Regions from separate parts of the Homo sapiens genome. Here region 1 is linked to region 2. The links are contacts of gene promoters, found by promoter capture Hi-C in human tissues and cell types (Jung and others, 2019). All regions are on one chromosome and are shown on one strand. The core of a region is centred on a gene start or on the middle of the fragment in contact, and the rest is flanking DNA. Distances in the headings are between cores, read along the strand shown. Region 1 overlaps BRD10 (bromodomain containing 10). Region 2 holds the start of MLANA (melan-A).

Evidence for each region. The method cuts DNA at HindIII sites, captures the fragments that hold promoters and counts their contacts. A contact is called where the count stands out against the background at its distance.
Region 1: a fragment that was not itself captured here is called in contact with the fragment with the promoter of MLANA in region 2 in 1 of the 25 tissues and cell types used here (lymphoblastoid cells).

What each region holds. Positions count from the first base shown.
Region 1 is chr9:5,930,862-5,935,437 of GRCh38, reverse strand. The region is part of intron 5 of BRD10 (bromodomain containing 10); the gene reads left to right. Among named protein-coding and RNA genes, the nearest start is that of MLANA, 42 kb to the right of the region's middle. The HindIII fragment of the contact is 3,336 bases long and covers 1-3,109 here.
Region 2 is chr9:5,889,188-5,893,669 of GRCh38, reverse strand. It overlaps MLANA (melan-A), which reads right to left and starts at 2,781. Exons shown (of 5, transcript NM_005511.2): 1 at 2,734-2,781; 2 at 1,119-1,220. The coding sequence starts at 1,195. LOC124902341 (small nucleolar RNA U13) reads right to left here and starts at 3,520; the gene lies at 3,414-3,520. It also overlaps a transcript of BRD10 not described here. The HindIII fragment of the contact is 14,558 bases long and covers 1-4,482 here.

The DNA.
Region 1 (4,576 bases), core at 192-2,691, 43 kb before region 2:
AGTGAACTACCTTACCAGGAATGTGACCTGTCACCCAGTTTTTCCCCCGCTACAAAGCTGGAAGACAGAGAAACTTGAAATGTTATCATTATTGTTATTGTTGTAGTTTGCCTTCATGCTTTCTATTTAAATGCTAATTTAGAAATATAATGGAAATGTTGGATATACTATTCAATGTATTCAGTGTGGGATGCCTTTAAAGTACAAACGCGTTCCTTTTCTCCTAGTCTTAAGTAAAAATTGGTAAGAGTATCAAGAGAAAATAATAGCATATATAATAGTTCATGTTAGAGCTTCTGTCAGTGTTAAAGTACTTTTTAACTTTTTTCATATTTATATGTATTATACTGTCAAAATAGCACTTTTTCAGGGACTGTGTACCAACATGATTAACATGATGTTTTACCCCCAAAACTGTGAATATGCAGGAATATGTTAGTATGGTGGTAGTTTCTGTAGGTAAGCAGTAAGAAAAATAGGTGAATACTTATTGAATATAGTATTACCTTTTCATGTAATAGTACTTAGACTAAGGAGAATGTCAAATAATTAGTTTATTAAAATACTTAGTTACAGTTTATTATATACTGTTTTTATACATGTGAGTTTAGATTATACCTTTGGATATAGTTAGTGATTTTAAATGAGACATCTTTTAGTGCCCAGCTAACTCAGTCAGTAGAGCACGAGACCCTTAAATAAGACTTCTTTTTGTAGGGATCCATTTAGCTTTTCTAAAAGGTATTTGTGTTTTAATTAAAAAACATAATATGGCCGGGCGCAGTGGCTCGTGTCTGTAATCCCACTACTTCAGGAGGCCAAGGCAGGTGGATCACTTGAGGTCAGAAGTTCAAGACCAGCCTGGTCAATATGGTGAAGCCTCATCTCTACTGAAAAAACAAAAATTTAAAATTAGTTGGGCGTGGTGGCAGGCATCTGTAATTCTAGCTACTAGGGAGACTGAGGCAGGAGAATTGCTTGAACCCAGGAGGTGGAGGTTGCCATGAGCCGACATCGTACCTCTGCACTCCAGCCTGGGCAACAGAGCAAGACCCTGTCTCCAAAAAAAAAAAAAAAAAGAAAAGCGTAATATATTGATATTTAATACCTTCTCTACCACAGAATTTATGTCTGTGACAAGAATTAAACTTGTAACAAAAAATGTTCTGTGCTTCATGTGTCTGTGATCTAACAACATATTTGTAAATAAAAGCATATAGGAAAAAAGCATTCATACTTTTGTTGTATATGTTTTGTACTGTTCTTTTAAATAAAAATGTTATCTCCACAATAATACCATCTCCATTTTAAAAAGCATTCTTTGTATATTTTTATATGATTTTAATTTTTTCTTCATATGACTGCCGATACCTGTTTTGTTTAGATATAATATTACAAGAAAAATCTATGTAAGTAACTGTATGGCTTGTATAAACAAGTGACTTTCACCTAAGTTTAATGTACAAAGTATCTAAATTAAAGTGTGCAAAATATATTTGTTGTTATGAGACATTTAATATAGAATTTATTTATGTCCCTCTTTTTTTCCTTTTTAGGTATCCAATGTCCCCAGCATCAGTAGATTGCCAACTCCCTCTCCTTGCCACACTCCAGCCAGTGTTATGCTGGTGCTGTCATACCCATCCCAGATTACTGTAGCAGAATGCAGTTGTTCTTTAGTTGTGAGGTAAGTTTCCCTCCCGACTCATTTCACATACATAGAGATGCAGCTTTTCTTTTTACAATATTGTGTAGTTTTGTAAGTTATTTTTTATTTTCCTTTATGATTCCTTAAGTTATTAATCTGTTACATTCAAAGACTTATAAAACTGCATGATATAATGAAGGACTTAATCTTGTGACCATAGACCAGTTCCTTGTTGTAGCAATCCCTATGGGGTTATAAAACCTCCAGTGTTTGGTAGTTGGGCCATCTTATGGAAAGGGAGCTGGCAATCTGCAGCTGCCGTGGACATTGGATGAGAAAGCATGAAAGGTAAGCTTCAAATTTAAATTATATTGTATGTCTTTGGTTCCATAATGTACACTTGAAATTCATACTTTTGTTGATTCATAAAAGAAAAATACTGCTTGTCCCTTTATAAAGTGACCTTCAGTAAATATTTGAATTATGAAATTCATGTAATGCATTGAGATTCTCTCAGTATTGTTTGCCTATGAAAATAGTGAAAATTCTAACATGGAAACAGTTAATTTATCCCTGTGTTCACATACTTGTTTATAAAGGAGAGTCAGAACTAAAATTAGATGCATAAAGCTTATTAAATATATTTTTATTAGAGAAAGTCATAGCACTGCTCCACAAATGATCTTTTACTAAATTATCTATCTGCCATTTTTATCTTTGTTTGTGTATTAATCAGTATAGAGAAAGAGTCTTAAGAACCTTTCTGATTTTTATTACATCCACATTCTGTCTTTGTGTTTGAAGACAGAAGAACTTGCTGTTTTGCTTTTAATTCACTCTTAACTTTAGGTCATTATTATTTTAATTATTATTGTAATTTTAAAAGTTAAAATAAGTCTTAGAGATTTTAATTCTTATAATACAGAGATACCTACATGTAAATATAGGTACTTACACAAGATAATCTATGTCTTCTTTAGGAATTGTCTTTGTGGGGTCCAAGAAATACAGCATTGTATAGTGGAAGGAGATTAGACGTTAGTATTTAGAGTGTAGAATTCTAGTCTAATGGCTGCTTCTGTCGGCAAATACAGTTGTGTCTCAGTATCCTTGGGAGATTGGTTCCAGGACCCCACCTTCATACCAAAATCCATGTATGTTCGAGTGCCTTATATAAAATGGTGTAGTCTTTATGTATAACCTACACACATCCTCCTGTAGACTTTAAATCATCTCTGTATTACTTATAATATCTACTACAATGTAAATGTGATTTAAATACTGGTTATACTATATTGTCTAGGGAATAATGACAAGAAAGAAAAGTCTGTATGTGTTTAGTGTAGACACAACCATTCATTTTTTTTCTTCCAAATTATTTTATATCTGTGGTTGGATACCTAGGGTCAACTGTACTTCCCTGTATAACTTTAGACCATTTTCTTCTAGAAAATAAATGCCCTTTTAGTTTCCTTTCAACTTTAATAATTTCATCCGAGATGAAACATGATCATTGTTCTTTGTTTTTCCCTTGTCCGTGTATATGAATAAAGTTGATCAATCAGAAAAGCTATTAGTAGCTTTTAGTTAATGACCTAATTTAAAGTTCAATAAATATTTGCTTGATTTTTATGTAGATTTTTATATTAGACCCAAGATAAGGCAGATTATCATCTCATTTCTTTTATATAACTTTTCTTCTCTTTACATTAATTTCATTGTATACCATGCAACTCTGAGAACACTACTAAGTAGAAAGGGACAGTGTCATTATTTTAATTTGATTGGGGTTATAAGCACCATGTTTTGACCAAAGCAGATGATACATAAAACAGGCAGTGTGAGTTTCCCTTTTACTCTAAGTAATTAAAGCACCTTACCTCAAATAGCAATCCCAGAACAGTTAATTTTCAACTTTTTTAAACCTCTGCATGCTTTTGAGCAACATAAAAACTTGACTCACATTCTCCATGGCAGGGTATAGGGGTGCCCTTTGTTGTGGTCATTATATTCATATGTATCTGCTAGACAAAGCATTTTATCAGTCTTTTCTATAATTTGTGTTGTGAAAATAATAAACTTTTGGGTTTGTTTTCGAAATATAGAATGATTTAATAAGCATTTTCAAATTATGAATGAAGTACTATACCACCACTACCCCAGACTGAAAATACATAAAGAAAGAGAAGAAGGCCACAAAACATATAATGTTAAAAGATAACAGACATTTCAAAACAGATTAGTGGGTAAGTTGTATGAAAGAAGTCTGTTCTCTGATCATAATATTTAAGCTTCCTTCCTTATATACAGTCTTCTAGTTCAGTAGTATATTTCTCCATGTGGGATTAAATTTCTAAGATTAGTAATAAACATAAAAGGTAAAAACTTTCTAATCTTTTAAAAACTTTTCTACAAAAATTAATATTGTAATTCAACAGAGGCAGAAATACAGTTGACAAATATCTTGAAATAACAACATCCCAGCTACCCAGTCTCCCCATCCTGTGCCTCATCTACCTAGGCCTAAGTAAGGTCTTCTGTGCCACAATACTGCTAGTCCTTCTGCATCCCCCGCCACACTACCACTTGCTAATCCAGGCAGCAGTCATACTGCCCAGAGTAACTCTACAGCTGCCATTTTTCTCCTGTAACTCCCGGTGAGGAATTCAGCATGCCTGGTGTTCCCTAGCCTTTGAACAGTTTTCCAGTTAATTCTGCCACAAAGAGTATAGTCTCCCTACTATCATATCTTTCCTCTTTCTTCTCTCTTTAACTTAGGAAAGATTTACTTCCACTCTGACCATTTGACTTCTTGAAGCCAAATAGTTGAGAAGTGGAAGAATGTTGGTTACAAGTCTACCTAATTTCTATTTTAAGTTCACTTTTTCTAGATGAAAGTTACTTCCTGTTCAATTTTATAATGTATCA
Region 2 (4,482 bases), core at 1,532-4,031:
AGTGATTATACACAAGCTGAAACGATACCCTAACTAATAGCACGGGCAATGGGCTCCCCTCCCTCAAAGAGTATGTTTTTGCTGTCAGGACATTTTCTGAGAAGATACCGCCGCCCTCATCTCCAATTGGCCAGGGATATTAGAGGATCCTATACCAGGGTCTTCTGAGGAAATGCTGTCTGCCTGAACTCTTCCTCAGTGCCTTTGTTGGGCTTTACATCTTGCTGGTCCCTGCGGTTGACTGTTAACAAAGATTGTTCAACAGCTCTTTCCAAAGAAAGAGCAGGTTCACAGGGAGTTCTGGACAGACCACATAAGAGGGTGTTGTCCTGTTAGAGTCCCACGCAGAGGGTGGGGCCTCCCCTGCCCCTGCCACCCAGCACGTACAGAGTATGTCCCTTTCCCACTCCCAGCACATACAGAGTATGTCCCTGCAGCCTCTGGGTTTTCATTACCGCACTTACATTTGCTGAAATTAATCTCATGCCTAACTCTCCCACTAAGTTGTGAGTTTTTTCAAAGATAAAAACAGTGTCTCACGCCAGTATACAATGCTTAGCATTTAGAAATGCTTAATCATATAAATACTTATTTTTAATTCACTCATAAAACCCAATGTCTTTCCTTAGGATAAAGTTATACTGCAAAGGCTGTGACCTCCATCTTCCTCTCGAGTCTGGCTGTGGGCTGAGTCACACACACCTGCCCGTCATCCTTACTGGCTCCTTGGCAACTCACTTTTATTCTGTCTGCAAACCACCTTCAGGAATTTGAGTGGAGGAGACAGAACAAGGATTGAGGAGAGAGGCATTGTGATCCTGAACAGATGTTTTTCCACTTGGGAACCTACAGATAAGACCCAATAGTCAAAAGTGCACCCAAAAATGGCAAGATCCAACCTTATACCATTCCCATCTTCCTGCCTGTTTGGCCTCAGAGAAGCTTGACTGAGCCCCTTATAGAAGCACAGAATCTCCTCCCCTTGTTGCCAGGGATGTTACTGTCTGGGGAGATAAACACTAGGGAGATTTACGAGCAGGCATGTACTGGTGGAAGTCAGCAGGCTGTGTCAGCAAACGGCAAACTGGAAGCCCTGCTGGGTCTGGTTTTGAACTTACTCTTCAGCCGTGGTGTAAGAGTGGCCGTGCCCCTTCTTGGGGTAACCATAGATGAAGTGAGCATCTTCTCTTGGCATCTTGTAGGGTCAGGGCACAGGACACCTAACAGAAGGAGCATGTGGGCATCATTAATGCATCCAAAGCCACCCTATTCATCATCTCATAAAGACCCACAACAGCATCCTCACTAGGTGACCAATATCCATAGCCAGGACCCTTTGGTTTCTCTCTGTGAGGGGATTTGCACCTGCTTCTTTCATTCATATCAAGGGCTTTAGCAATAGCTCAGGTTTCTAACCCCTCCTACTAACTGAAAATTAAGTTCAAAGAAGAAACTACAAACAAAAGCAAAAAAGACTTGCAAGTTGAGTTATTATTTGGTGAAAAAATATTCCTCATTTGCCTTCAATTTGACTCTGCACCATAAACTTCTAGAGAAACAAACAAAATGCATTTTCACTGATTCTCCACCTTCCCTGGCCCAGGGCTGTGGCTAACAAAATTAGAGGAGTTATTTTTCTCCAAAGTTATTGTTGGATATCAATCCCACAGACAAACAGAGGCTATGATACATAACGTGTGTTTCCCAGAGCACCCGTTGCCTGTGCCTCGCGAGGGTGCATGAGGTTGAGCACTGAGCACAACATCTTCCAGCCCAGCTTTTCAGCAAAGGAAACCACCCCACACAGGGGCTTCAGCCTGTCCCCAGGCACTCCACCCAAAACAAGCCGAGGAAGCCCAGGACCTGACTTTATCTAACAATGTGTTTCCCTTCCTACTTAAGTCAATTTCTGCTTCTCTCTGGTTCAAGTCCCTTGGCTAGGATTCTTTTTTTTTCTAACTATAACACATACAAATGAACAACAAAAAATATCCATAAACTGCAGTGGCCGTAATTCAAGTACGCTCATTAAAAACCAATAATGGAAGCTCCTTTCCTTATTATTGTGTATTTTTCTGCTCTCTTACTGTCCTCATGAATTTCAAAGGTGTGATCCCCATAGAATTATATTAATGAGCCCCAGTTTAAAACAACAGGGAGAGGTGAGACAGAAGAGTGGGGATTTCGACACATGACCCCTTTCCACTGGGACATTTTATGTGTAATTTGCCCTTCCCAGTTGTAAAAAAGAAATGAAAGTCAAACTCACCAGTCCTCTCAAGTGAATAATATAGGACTGAACCCTGTGTTCAAAATGACAGAATGGAATCTTAATTCTTCATTAAATTGTTTTAATACATCCCATACCTCAAACTCAGAGCCTTGGCAAATGGTGCAGCAACAGCAAATGCGCCTCTTACTACTCAGACCAGGAGAAGTGGTTCTTTAAGTGACAGGAGAACACATCTACCTCAGGGAGGCTGCTTCTCCCCAGCAAGATGCCATCCTGAATAATTGCTTTTCTTCTTGGTAGTGTTGGAGGACTGAGAGAGGATTCAGGAGGAGGCTTTGTGAGCCCTCTGAGGTTGGAGACTGACAAACGTTGCGGAGAAATTCTGTTGATGTCACACATCAGCGGGGCAATGAGGGTAGGCAGAGGACTTAGCCAGAATTTCCCAAATCCTATTCTGGGAGAAGAGGACTATGATTATGGCGAGAAGGCAACGCTCTTACCTTCCTTAATGAGAGTCCTCTGTCTGCTGGCTGGCCGCGTGTATGAAGACTGCTTCTCTGGCTCTTAATCGTTTTGACTTATTTTTTTTCCTGGTTTTGAGTCCCATGATAGTCACGGGTTTAGATTTCTGACGGGGTCGTCTGTAATTGCTAAATTGGCATGAAAGAAACCAACTTTATTCCTTCCTTCAAAAAGTCACAGCTGACTGTGGCCTCTGTTTTCCCCAGTCCCAGTGCTCTATCCTAGGGAAGCCATTTATTTTAAATGTTGGTCCCTCCTCCATAGGATTGCCATGTCACATAAAATATGACATGAGCCTAGTTATAATGATTTAAAATTCATGGTCCGACACCACAATTACTTTTGCACCAACCTAATTGATGTCTAAGTAGGTCATATTCTACCTGCAAAAAGAAAATTTCATCTATCCCTTTCACATAGATGGAAACCCACTATCTCCAGTGGACAGTTAACACCAAAGGCATCACAGAGAACTCATGGAGCTCAGCTGAGGAGGATGCCCAGTTAAATTTGAACTTCAGATAAACAATGAACAGTTTCTTAATACAACTATGTCCCATACAATATTTTTAGGATAAATATGTCCACATATTCTATGGGACATATACACTAAAAGAGTTATTTTTTGTTTATCTGAAATCCACATTTGTTTTTCTCATGTCAGATAGGTAAGGTGCCCATGTCATTGTAACAAGGTTTGAGGGAGGCATATCTCACACGTGAACATGGAAACCCAATCATCACGCTTATGACCCACAAAAGGATCTGAAATCCAAACTAAACTGGGTTCCCTATTCCCTCCCTCATCTCCATCTCAAAGGGTTGAAGAGTCTTTAGGCACAGGTCTGGAGAGCATCTAGTCCCAGACTCTCATAATCAAGAAAAGGAAATAGAAAAATCCCTGAAACCTCCTCAGCTGAGCTCCATGAGTTCTCTGTGATGCCTTTGGTGTTAACTGTCCACTGGAGATAGTGGGTTTCCATCTATGTGAAAGGGATAGATGAAATTTTCTTTTTGCAGGTAGAATATGACCTACTTAGACATCAATTAGGTTGGTGCAAAAGTAATTGCGGTGTCGGACCATGAATTTTAAATCATTATAACTAGGCTCAAACACATTTTTTTTTTCTGAGATGGAGACTCACTCTGTCGCCCAGGCTGGAGTGCAGTGGCAGGATCTCAGCTCACTACAACCTCTGCCTCCCAGGTTCAAGCAATTCTCCTGCCTCAGCCTCCTGAGTAGCTGGGACTACAGGTGCACGCCACCACACCTGGCAAATTTTTGTATTTTTAGTAGAGACAGGGTTTCACCATGTTGGCCAGGATGGTCTCGATCTCCTGACCTCATGATCCACCTGCCTCAGCCTCCCAAAGTGCTGGGATTACAGGCATGAGCCACCGCGCCCAGCCTCAAACACATCTTTATTAATCAAAATAGGAACCATTGCAATGAAGACATTTTTGCCAATGAAAAATAAGTTTGTTTATTCCTGTAGCATACACATTCATGCTTCAAGATTCGATGAACTCTTGGAAAGCATTTTCTGCATCCTGCTGGTTGTGGAAGGATTTTCCCTGCAAAAAGTTGTTAAGATGATTGAAGAAGTGGTAGTCGGTTGATGAGAGGTCAGGTGAATATGGCAGATGAGGCAAAAGTTCGTAGCCCAATTTATTCCAACTTTTGAAGCATTGGTTGTGTGACATGTGGTTAGGTGCTGTCATGGACA